2 separate regions of the Homo sapiens genome follow, and region 1 is linked to region 2. The links are contacts of gene promoters, found by promoter capture Hi-C in human tissues and cell types (Jung and others, 2019). All regions are on one chromosome and are shown on one strand. Each heading gives the region's core, a stretch centred on a gene start or on the middle of the fragment in contact. The rest is flanking DNA. Distances are from core to core; before and after follow the strand shown.

The links. The method cuts DNA at HindIII sites, captures the fragments that hold promoters and counts their contacts. A contact is called where the count stands out against the background at its distance.
Region 1: a fragment that was not itself captured here is called in contact with the fragment with the promoter of ZNF717 in region 2 in 2 of the 25 tissues and cell types used here (mesendoderm cells and thymus).

What each region holds. Positions count from the first base shown.
Region 1 is chr3:75,729,694-75,735,907 of GRCh38, reverse strand. ZNF717 (zinc finger protein 717) reads left to right here. Exons shown (of 5, transcript NM_001290208.3): 5 at 1-40. Among named protein-coding and RNA genes, the nearest start is that of MIR4273, 5.5 kb to the left of the region's middle. The HindIII fragment of the contact is 4,652 bases long and covers 1,443-6,094 here.
Region 2 is chr3:75,782,124-75,787,945 of GRCh38, reverse strand. ZNF717 (zinc finger protein 717) reads left to right here and starts at 2,397. Exons shown (of 5, transcript NM_001290208.3): 1 at 2,397-2,562; 2 at 4,582-4,640. The coding sequence starts at 4,584. RefSeq lists an enhancer at 2,135-2,284. The HindIII fragment of the contact is 7,615 bases long and covers 739-5,822 here.

The DNA of each region.
Region 1 (6,214 bases), core at 2,519-5,018, 53 kb after region 2:
GGTGATGTTGCCAAGCAAAATAAAGTGAAGCTCAAAGTGAGATGTGCCTCTATTTTGATGGGCTCTAACAATTTGTCTTTTCTGGGTGCATTTAGACCATTGACATTCAAAGTGATTATACAGTTGGATTAATTTTGCCATATCATTTTCCATTAACTCCTATTATTCTTTGATCTTGCTTTGTCCTCCACTCTTTTTCTGCCTTTTATGGAGTTGATGATTTTATACGATTTTTGTTTCCTCTCGTTGCTTTTTTTTTTTTTTTTTTTTTTATTGAGACAGTCACCCAGGCTGGAGTGCAGTGGTGTGATCATGGCTCCCTGCAGCCTCAACCTCATGGGTTCAAGTGATCCTTCCACCTCAGTCTCCCAATTAGCTAGGACTACAAGTATGCAATTAGCTAGGACTACAAGTATGCACCACAATACCTGGCCTTTTCTTTTCTGTAGGGACAGGGTCTCACTGTATTGCTCAGGATAGTCTCTAACTCCTGGACTCAAGCCATCTTTCTACCTTGGCAAGAGCCACTATACCTGGCCTGTTTTCTCTTTTAGCATTTCTATACTTTGGTTTTTACTAGTTGCCCTGGAGTTTGCAGTATAGACTTGCAACAAATCCAAGTCCACCTTCAAATAACACTATACCAGTTCAGTTACTTCGACTGCCTTCTAATAGAAATGTAATACCAGTTTCTCTCATATTCCTATGTCTTGTGTTATTGTTGCCATTTGTTTCACTTATATGTAAGCATACATAGCCTTGTATATATTAAAGTATGTAATTGGCTGGGTGCCTTGGCTCAAGCCTGTAATCCCAACACTTTGGGAGGCTGAGACAGGTGGATCATGAGGTCAGGAGATGGAGACCCTCCTTGCTAACATGGTGAAACCCCATCTTTACTAAAAATACAAAAAATTAGCTGGACGTGGTGGCACACGCCTGTAGTCCCAGCTACTCGGGAGGCTTGGACAGGAGAATTGCTTGAACCAGGGAGGAGGTGGAGGTTGCAGTGAGCTGAGATTGCACCACTGCACTCCAGCCTGGGTGACAGAGCAAGACTCTCTCAAAAAAAAAAAAAAAAAAAAAAAAATATATATATATATATATATATAATTGCATACATTGTTATTATATACAAACTGTTATATGTTAGGTCAATTAAGAATAAAAAGCAGCCAGGTACGGTGGCTTATGCCTGTAATCCCAGGACTTTGGGAGGCCGAGGTGGGCAGATCATGAGGTCAGGAGATTGAGACCATCCTAGCTAAATGGTGAAATCCCATCTCTACTAAAAATACAAAAACAAAATTAGCCGGGTGTGGTGGTGGGTGTCTGTTGTCCCAGCTACTCGGGAGGCTGAGGCAGGAGAATGGCATGAACCTGGAAGGCAGAGCTTGCCGTGAGCTGAGATCACGCTACTGCACTCCAGCCTGGGTGACAGAGTGAGACTCCATCTCACAAAAAAAACAAAAAAACAAAAAAAACCCATTTTACCACCACTTATTCCTTCTCTAATGTTCTTTTTAAAATGTAGATTCAAGCCAGGTGTGGTGGCTCACACCTGTAATCCCAGCACTTTGGGAGGCCGAGATGGGTGGATCATGAGGTTAGGAATTCAAGACCAGCCTGGCAAAGATGGTGAAACACTGTCTCTAATAAAAATACAAAAAAATTAGCCAGGCGTGGTGGAGGGCTCCTGTAATCCCAGCTACTTGGGAGGCTGAGGCAGAGAATTGCTTGAACCTGGGAGGCAGAGGTTGCAGTGAGCCGAGAATGTGCCACTGCACTCCAGCCTGGGCAACAGAGAGAGACTCTGTCTCAAAATAAATAAATAAAAATAAATAAAATGTAGGTTCAGTTTTCAGATGTGTATCTTTTTTTTTCCTCTAGATAATGTTTAATATTTTCTCACATGACACATCTGCTGGTAACAAGTTTCCTCAACTTTTGTTTGTCCAGGGAATGTTTTATTTCTCATTTACTTTTGAAAGAAGATCTCACAGGGCACTGAAATCTTAGTTGATGGTTTTTTTTTTTTCCTCTCAGCATGTTTAATATGTCATTCCACTCTCTTTTTACTTTCATGGTTCTGAGATGTTGAATGTAATTTTTTTTTTTTTTTTTTTTTTGAGATAGAGTCTTGCTCTGTCACCCAGGCTGGAGTGCAGTGGTGTGATCTCAGCTCACTGCAAGCTCTGCCTCCCGGGTTCATACCATTCTCCTGCCTCAGCCTCCCGAGTAGCTAGGACTATGAGCTCCCACCCCTACGCCTGGCTAATTTTTTGTATTTTTTCGTGGAGATGGGGTTTCACCGTGTTAGCCAGAGTGGTCTCGATCTCCTGACCTCATGATCCACCCACCTTGGCCTCCCAAAGTACTGGGATTACAGGCATGAGCCACCGAGCTCAACCTGAATGTGATTCTTATCTTTGTTTCTCTATAGGTAAGATGTTGTCCACTCCACCTTTGGTTTCTTTTGGAGCTGATGTTTTATACAGTTGGAGAATAATATGCCTAGGTGTAGGTTTTTGGCATGTATCCTGCCTGGTGTGCTCTGAGCTTCTTGGATCTTTGGTTTGGTGTCTGACATTAACAGTGGAAGTTGTCAGACATGATTGTTGCAGATGTTTCTTCTATTTCTCTCTTTTTCCTTCTAGTATTCTCATCACTCTATGTTACACCTTTTCTAGCTGTCCCACAGTTCTTGGATATTACATTCCATTCTTTTCAGTTTTTAAAGTTTCTTTCAAAGTTTCCAGAACTCAGAGACTCTTTCCTTTGTTGTGTTCAATCTACTAATAAGCCAATCAAAGACATTCTTCAGGTCTTTTGCAGTATTTTTTTTATCTCTACTGTTTCTCTTTTGTTCTTTCCTTGGACTTCTATCTCTCTGCTTACATTGCCTATCTGTTCTTGAATGCTGTCTCCTTTGTTCATCAGAGCCCTTAGCATACTACTCAGAGATTTTTTTTTAAAATCCCTGTCTGATAATTCCAATATCATAGGTGTGTCTGGTTCTGATGATCTGTCACTTCAAATTGTGTTTTTTGCCTTTTAGTATGCCTTGTGCTTTTTCTTTATTCCTAGATATGAGATACCAGGTAAAAGGAACTACTGTAACAGTGCATCCAGTAATGATGGGAAGCTGTGGAGGGGAGGGGAAGCTGTCTTAGTCCATCCACCAGCATAACTTAGAGCAAGTAATTTGTAAACAACAGAAATTTATTGCTCAATTTAGAGGCTAGAAAATCCAAGGTCAAGGTTCCAGGAGATTCAGTGTTTGATGAGACCCATTCCTCGTAGATGGTGCCAGCTATATGTCCTCTCATGTTGAAATGGACAAAGAAGCTTCATTTGGCCTGTTTCATAAGTGCACTAATCCCAATCAGGTTGGCTTTGCCATTACCTTTCAAAGGTCCCACCCCTTAATTCTAGTGCATTGGAGACTCGGTTTCAACAGGCACATTTTGCAGGGGGTCCAGCAGGGAACAGATATTCAGACTGTAGCAGAAGAGTTCTGGAGTCTTACGACTGGGCCTCATTGTTTAAGTGAGTCTCTGCTTTTGGACTATGAACTTCACATGTGTTTCTCTGTTTTTATCTTCCCCTTTAGGGATGACTGGAGTAGGCTGGAGTTGGGAATTTCCCTTCCAGCAGGTCATTTAGGATCTGGTTATATGAGAGCAGGTTAGGCTGAGGTTCAGTAATTTCTCCTGAGGATAAGCCTTGTTAAGAACAGGTTGCTCTGGCATATTTTAAGATGGTTTTCCTTTTTCCTTCCCAAAGGTGGAAGCAAGAAGCAAGTTTTCTCAGGTATTTGCCACAGGAGCCTGGTGGAGCTCCAGGAGGTAAATTTTACAATATTATGCTCCCTCATAACTGGATCTCCCTGGTGTTTTTACCTCCTTGAGTTGTCCATATGGAACCTTCAGCAATTCACCAGTTATAGTTCAAGATTTTCTACTCCAGCACTGGTTCCTAAGGTGGTTTCAGTAGTGAGTCTCTGTTCCTGTAAGCCATAAATTCCCATATTCACTTCTCTATCTCTCCAATCTTGGGGGCAGTGGTTTGCCCTATGTCCTCTCTTCACATTCAAATCCAAAAAGGATTGTTGATTTTTCAGTCTCTTCAGCTTTTGTTTTATTTAAATTTTTTTTTTAGAGTTGGGGGTCTCACTATGTTGCACAGGCTGGTCTCAAACTCCTGGACTCAAGGGATCCTCCTGCTTTGGCCTCCCAAAGTGCTGGGATTACAGGCATGAGCCACCACACCTGACCTTTTCAGCTTTTCATGTGTTGTTAAGGTGGACTGATTACTTCCATTCTTTTTTTTTTTCTTCCTTTTTTTGAGATGGACTCTCACTTTGTTGCTCAGGCTGGAGTGCAGTGGTGCAATCTCAGCTCACCTTAACATCTGGCTCCCAGGTTCAAGTGATTCTCCCTGCCTCAACCTCCTGAGTAGCTGAGATTACAGGCACCCACCACCATGCTGGCTAATTTTTGTATTATTATTATTTTATTTTTTAATTTTTTGAGGCAGAGCTCACTCTGTCATCCAGGCTGTAGTGCAGTGGCATGATCTTGGCTCACTGCAACCTCCACCTCCCAGGTTCAAGCAATTCTTCTGCTTCAGCCTCCCAAGTAGCTGGTACTACTGGCACACACCACCACACTTCGCTAATATTTGTATTTTTAGTAGAGATGGGGTTTTGCCATGTGGGCCAGGTTGGTCTGAAACTCCTGACTTCATGTGATCCACCCACCTCAAGCTCCCGAAGTGCTGGGGTTACAGGTGTGAGCCTCCATGCCCAGCCTAATTTTTGTATTTTTAGTAGAGACAGGGTTTTGCCATGTTGACCAGGTTGGTCTTGAACTTCTGACTTCAGGTGATCTGCCCACCTCGGTCTCCCAAAGTGCTGGGATTACAGGCATGAGCCACTGCACCTGGCTACTTCTAAGCTTCTTACATGCAGAAATCAGAACCTGGAATCTGTTTCTAAGACTTATCTTCTTAATGCCTATGTGGACAATTAAAGGATTTTTCTCCTCAGGACTCTGAATATGATGAATTGTATTAGTAGACTTTCTAATATTGAGCTTTTCTTAATTTGTGAAATAAACTCAGAAAGTTCCTTCTTGGTTTTAACAGTCTATTTCTGTTTGTAAATATTAGTATTTCTGTGGATTCTGTACTTGTTCCTTGTTATCCTTTCATTCTCTTAGGTTCATTTGGTCTGATGGATTCAGGTACCATTGAAATTCTGATAGTTTCAAAATCTTTTATCTCCAGGTTTGATCTCTCTTGTGAACTCTGGAACTGTATTCCCAATTGTCAATTGGACATCCCTACGTATGGGACCTCAGATATTTCAAACATGATGTGTCCAAGTCTGTATCACTTCTGGCCATCATATTGTTCTTTTATTTTTCCAAATTTCACATCACCAGTAACAAACTAGCTGTGATCATGGCAGATAGCCTGGAAATAAAACTCCCCTTTTTACCCTTTGCACAGCAAATTGACATCAAATCCTGTTTCTACTTTTTTTTTTTTTAACTATTGCTTCCCTATTCTGTATTCTCACTGCTCCATCTCCTGATGTAGGAGGTCATCTGTTTTCCTCTTTTCCTCTCCTCTGACTCTTAAGCCCTTTCCCATTCTCTTTCTCAGGAATGGCTGTTAAAATGCCAATATGGTCTTGTAACTTTCCTGTACTTAGTGAACCTCCTTATTTACACCCTGTTTGTGAAGTGGCTGTGTTCACCCTGGGTGGACACGGAATGTTTTTGTCATGTACAAAGAGAATTTTATGCTGCCTGTGTACAGTTATTAATTTGTAAGTACACTCAGCTTTTTGTATCTGTAGGTTTAATATCTGTGTATGTAAGCAAACTTGGATGCAAAATATTTGAAATAAAATCAGATGCTTGCATCTGTAGTGAACATATTCAGACTTTTTCTTGTCATTATTTCCTAAACAACACAACTATTTACATCCACATTGTATTTGGTCTTCTAAGTGTGAAAGGAAAATAAAGCTTGGGACTCCAAACTCATTAAACTAAAGGGAAAAGTCAAGCTGGGAACTCGGTCATGCAAACCTGCCTCCTTCTTTTGGTTCCTAAATAAGATGGCTCCAAGATAAAAAGCTTTTTGTCTTGTAGCCCCCTCCATCATATTTTTCCCACAAGGAAATTTCTGGTGTGCTTTAAGA
Region 2 (5,822 bases), core at 1,148-3,647:
TATGTACAGATGACATGATCTTGCATTTAGAAAATCGTAAGAAATTTACTAAAAAGTATTAGGACTCATGAACAAATTTAAGAATGTAACACTATATAAGATTGATATACAAAAATAACTGTATTTCTTTACCAAGAAATCAAGAATCCAAAAATGGAATTACAAAAATAAATCTTGTTACAATAGAATTAAAGCTGGGGAAGCTTAAACTTGAACACTAAAAACTGCAATACATGGTTAGCGTCGGAGACACCCAGGTATCATCCCTGAGCCTTCTCTCCTTGGCTCTGAGGACTTCACCTTCACGTGGTGAGGAAAGGGGTTGCAGTCTTGGCTTTTACGTTATATTAGGTGGGTTCAGGTTGAGGTATCTGCAATTCAAATGAGTATTACAATCTCTACTTTTATGGATAAGAGACTGAGGCCCACCAAGAGAGGGAATGACAGTCCATATCCTGGAAGGCAAATTGTCAGGCACTGATTTCCGCTATGTAACCCCTGCCAATCATCGTGTATTTAAAGGATCCCCAGATACCATACCAATAGGTGTTCAAGAGAGAGGCCTGTAATCTAGGCGTCTGAGAAAGCAAGGCTAGAGATTCCGATATTGGAGACAACAGGGCTCTGGGAAGATTAAGGTTGAGTTTTCTGGATCTGCAGAATAGAGTCACTGAGGAGCAATTGCAAGATCCGAGGAGATGAAAGAACAAGTCAGGGCATGCTTAGGAAAAGAGAAAACCAGGGATAGGTTTTAGGCAAGAGTCACACTGAGGAAGGGCAGGTTCTTGGCGTCGCTCAGGAAGGAATCCAAAAGCAAGCCTGTGGTGGAAGAAAGCAGCTCTACGGAGGCACTGGCGGTGTTACAGCCCTGCGTCCACTCCTGCAGGGCAGGGAGCCCTCCGTGGGTTGTGCTCCCAGAGTAGCAGCCTGGGGGTGGCTTGCAGTCATTTTTATAATTCACTTTTAATGGCATGCTAATTAAGGGGCGGGTTATTCAGAAATAGCTAGAAATGGGCAGTAACTTCCAGCTGTTTCCATGGCAAGGGGTGGGGACTTCCCGTGCTGCCGTGGCATTGGCAAACTGTCACGGCACTGGTGGAAGCGTCTTCTGGTGATCTGAGGCGTGAGGTGCTTTCGCTGCCTCTCCCAGTCTCCTGCGTGCCTCTTACCTGAAAGCCCTTCACACCCTCATCTGCCCACCTACAAACTTCACTGCCCTTTCACCCCAACCCCGTTTCACACGCACTCCCACATCAACCCTGAGCATTCAAGCTTGCGTTTCCCTGTTAGGAACCTCGGTGGTGGCCGGAGCTCTGAGAAACCCCTAGGCAGAAATCCTTGCCTAGTTTGTGGCAGAAATCAGGGAAGGAAAGGCAAAGTTCAGGTCTTTCTCACAATAAATAAATAAAGATAGCTAGATTTGATTGATTGGTGGATGGATGAAACGTGGGAGTTTATGGGCAAATATTTATCAGACACTGGAAGTGTAAGTTGTCACAAAGATTATGGAGTGCACCTGTCTTATGACCCTGTTATTTTATCCCAGTATATGCACTAGAGCATTTTTTGTAACTGTGTAAATTGAAGGCTTATAAATTAGTTTAGTGAGAGAAAAGATAACGGATTGGAAGAGAATTACCATATTCATTAGTTGTGTTTTTAAAATTTTAAAGTAAAATAGAGACATGATTTTTTTCATGCTTTCGAATGCATTTATAAAAAATAGACTTGAGGGCTGGGCGCAGTGGCTCACGCCTGTAATCCCAGCACTTTGGGAGGCCGAGGAGGGCGGATCACGAGGTCAAGAGTTCGAGACCAGCCTGACCAACATGGTGAAACCCCGTCTCTACTAAAAATACAAAAATTAGGTGAGTGTGGTGGCGCGCACCTGTAATCCCAGCTACTCAGGAGGCTGAGGCAGGAGAATCGCTTGAACCCGGGAAGCGGAGGTTGCAGTGAGCCGAGATCGCACCATTGCTCTCCAGCCTGGGTGACAGAGTGAGACTCCGTCTCAAAAAAAAAAAAAAAAAAAAAGTTACTCATTAATAGCATAGACCAATTGGCCTCTATTGAAATTTCTCCATTATTTTCACAATGTGCCAGGCTGTGAAACCAGGATTTAATAAAGAACCAGAATGCCACATCTGTGTCACCTGGGTAGGGACCAGTCCTGATCCATTAAGTCCGGGTCTCTGGGTAACTGGACTCACTGCTGGGCAAAACAGAATGTCCGGCTTGGGTTCCTAACCGGGGACCGCAGAGCCTCATGGGAAATGTAGTGTCACCTTCCAATGATGTTACCATCAAGGACCTTGGGAACCAGCTTTTCTCTCTGCGCATGCGCCGCCCCGCCCACTCCGCCATTTTCCTCCGGAAGTGCGGCACCCAGAGGCGGTCTTGTAGCTGGGCCAGCCTGGGGCTTGGTTCTATGTCCCTGCGGGTCGGTGCGAGGGCGAAGAGGAACCCGTGGGCCCGGGGGATCCCGGGGGGCCGGACCAGTGTTCCCCAGTTGTGGGAGCAGACGCGTGGGCGCATCGCGGGCGGGCAGGGCCTGAAGTGCAGGTGCAGGCCGCGGACCCTGGCGGGGGCTGGGAGGACAGGCGTGGGGTCCCGGCAGTGAAGCGGGTTCTAGAGGCGCAGGAGCGGGTAGGCGAGGCCGGTGGCCCTGGGCCCGGAGTCTGCAGGCCGCGCTCCTGTCCTGCCGCTGAGGGAGCCGGTTACCAACCCGCATGACGCTCAGTTTGCCCATCTGTCCCAGTGCGAACACACAGTTCTCGGGAGACGTTCCCCATTCCCAGAGGAGTAGTGCGAAACGCGTGCGCCTCGAGTCTTAAACTGGGCGTTTGTATTAGTTGGGTTTCCCGGTGTCTCTTTAGCAAGTGAAGTTTCTGGTTCCCTCCTTCACTGTGTGACCTGCCTAGTCCTCCTGGGTTGCGTTTACAGAAGTTTATACGAGACCTAGTTTCCAGGGAAGAACTCACTGATGCCGCGAGGGAGATGGGGTACTGGATGATGGTCTTCAGCCTTAAGGGTACTTCAGTCTTAACCGTGTGTTATAAGGTTTGAAAGGGAGGGTTCCCTATGAATAAGAAGCGCACTTGAAAGAACAGCCCTCTGGTCTAACCTCCCACTGGTGCTTCAGAGGAGGATAAAAGGTCACAGGTGAAGATCCCAGTTTTCCTCGCTCGGGAAATATTAATTCTACTCCCTAGAATGCACAAGATTTGCAAAGACTAGGTGACAGTGGTAGGTTTGGACGAACTTTCAGAAGGTTGAGGTGAATTCGGCTGAGAAGAACAGGCAAGGACCTAGGAAATATTCCTTATTTGAAGGGGCCTGAAAGTGTGGTCTGGGGTACAGGAGTGACCTGTCATACCTGAGAAGATTAAAATACTCTCCAAACACAGTCCCATTCCTTCAACCTTTCCTCGTTGTTTCCAGCGTTTGAGATATATTAAACCTAGTCCATCACCAAATTTAGCTTTAGCATTAGATTGTGAAGTTCTATCGATTGTATTTGATTTGTAATTTAAGACTTTCTCCCCCTACGTAATTTTGTTAAAAACATATTGAATTCTGTTCACTTAGGTGTAACAGTTAATACTTGCTGTTTAAGGAACTAATTAAACCTTACTGGCTTATAAAAAACAACCACCATTTTATTTGTTTGAAGTTCTGTGGATCTGCATTTTGGTGTGGTGGGTTCAGCTGGGTAGTTGATATATTTATGTTGCCTGGATCACAAAAGAGGCCTTGGTCACATGGTGGGTTGACTGAGCCTGGTTGGTTTAAGATAGTTTCCTTCACAATCTGGCGGTTTGTGGTGACTCTTGGCTAGGCCCTGTGTCTCCACCAGGGTAGCTCCAGACCTCCTCACAATATGACTGTGTCCAAAAAGGCAAGAACCAATGGATATTTGCATCACATTTTCCATTGTCCATTCACTGGACAAGTCAGATGGAAAAGCCCAATTTATTGTCAGAGCATAATATGAGGGCTTGGATACAGGGAAAGGTGTTATTGGGAAACATGAGTAGAATGGTGTACTGCAGGAAATACATATTATGTACATTTAAAAAAAAGTAATTGTAGGCCAAAATTGCTGGGTTGCAAGATGCACTTTCCATGATGTTCAGGTATAGAAAAGCAAGATGTACTGTCATGGGAACACTCATATGAAGTTATTTGTGGAATCCACATATTAATAGGAAAATAGTTAATACAGCCCAGTATATTTCTATAACATTTATTTTAGTGAACTTATAATGTTTCTTTGTATTAAATTATTAGATTGTATCTTTAGGTAATATTGTTGCTAAATTAGTAGGTAATACATATTTTTATTCAAAATAAATTGTGCATCTAATGTCTACCAATTAATGTACTTGTAGATGTATCTTATCTTGAGTCTTTGCTGCCCCTAATGAGGCTTGAAGGACTCTTCTCCCATGGGGAAGTTTTTCTTTTTCAGGAGGGAGGAGGGCTTTTCCAGGTAATGTGTCTAGAGTGTTGGGCAGAAGAATCTGGGACCACACCACACCAGTTCTCTCCTTAATTCACGTCATTTGCCTTCTCTCTCAGCTATGTTTCCAGTGTTCTCTGGCTGTTTCCAAGAGCTACAAGAAAAGAATAAATCTCTGGTGAGTTGTTTATTTGTTCTTCACTTTGTTTTACACTGTATTTTCTGAGTTTATGGGTGTCTGTGAATTAAAAAAGAAAAGTGGAAATAAGTAAAACTCAGGTTGAAGGAAATATACATAAATAAGATAAAGCTGACCTGTAGATATAGACAGGTTGTAAGAGCTTAGAGTTGTCTAAGTTGAGTGCAAATTTTCCTCTGATCTTTCTGATGCAGTGACAAAAAAGTCAGTCATGGTTGTTACGTGATTGGAATGGAACCCGCGAAGAGAGCATGCTGTGTTCTTGTGGGACAGGAAAGCTTGTGTGCACCAAGTCTGAACCACCACCTTCGGTGGTGACATAGGTTATGTGCTGGAACATATTTCACACCAGCCTGGCAGTAAATACTTGTAGTGTTGTGCAGTGGAAACGGTCATCTTCTGCTAAAGCACGGCATGTTGTGCAGTGGAAACGGTCGTCATCCGCTAAAGCACGGCGTGTTGTGCAGTGGAAATGGTCATCTGCCGCTAAAGCACGGTGTGTTGTGCAGTGGAAACGGTCATCGTCCGCTAAAGCACGGCATGTTGTGCAGTGGAAATGGTCATCTGCTGCTAAAGCATAGTGTGTTGTGTAGTGGAAATGGTCATCTGCCGCTAAAGCACAGTGTGTTGTGCAGTGGAAATGGTCATCTGCCGCTAAAGCACAGCTTCCATCATAAGGTATGCTCCTTGCTGTGGTGGAACATATTTCACACCAGCCTGGCAGTAAACACTTGTAGTGTTGTGCAGTGGAAACAGTCATCTTCCACTAAAGCACGGCCTGTTGTGCAGTGGAAATGGGCATCTGCTGCCAAAGCACAGCTTCCATTGTAAGGTATGCTCCTTGCTCAAAGAGTGTGGTCCCAAACAGCTTTTGGGAGGTGCTCCTTGATTCATGGATGAAACCTGGAACATCTTGAGAACTGAGTTAACCACAGGTCCTTAAATAACTCTCCACACCTTTATCTTAGTTTATCTCTACATGCAGGGTGTGCAGCAGCCTGTTCAAAGTTATATTTTCTGGGAAATACTTCCAGTGTTTATTTGCACTTTAGCCCACTCTGTGTAGTCCTAACTTATTTCTTCTAAACTCACCATTAACCTAAATAATAGTCAAATTTAGGGGGACTGTGATTGCCTTACTCGAGTCTTCTACCATAGTTG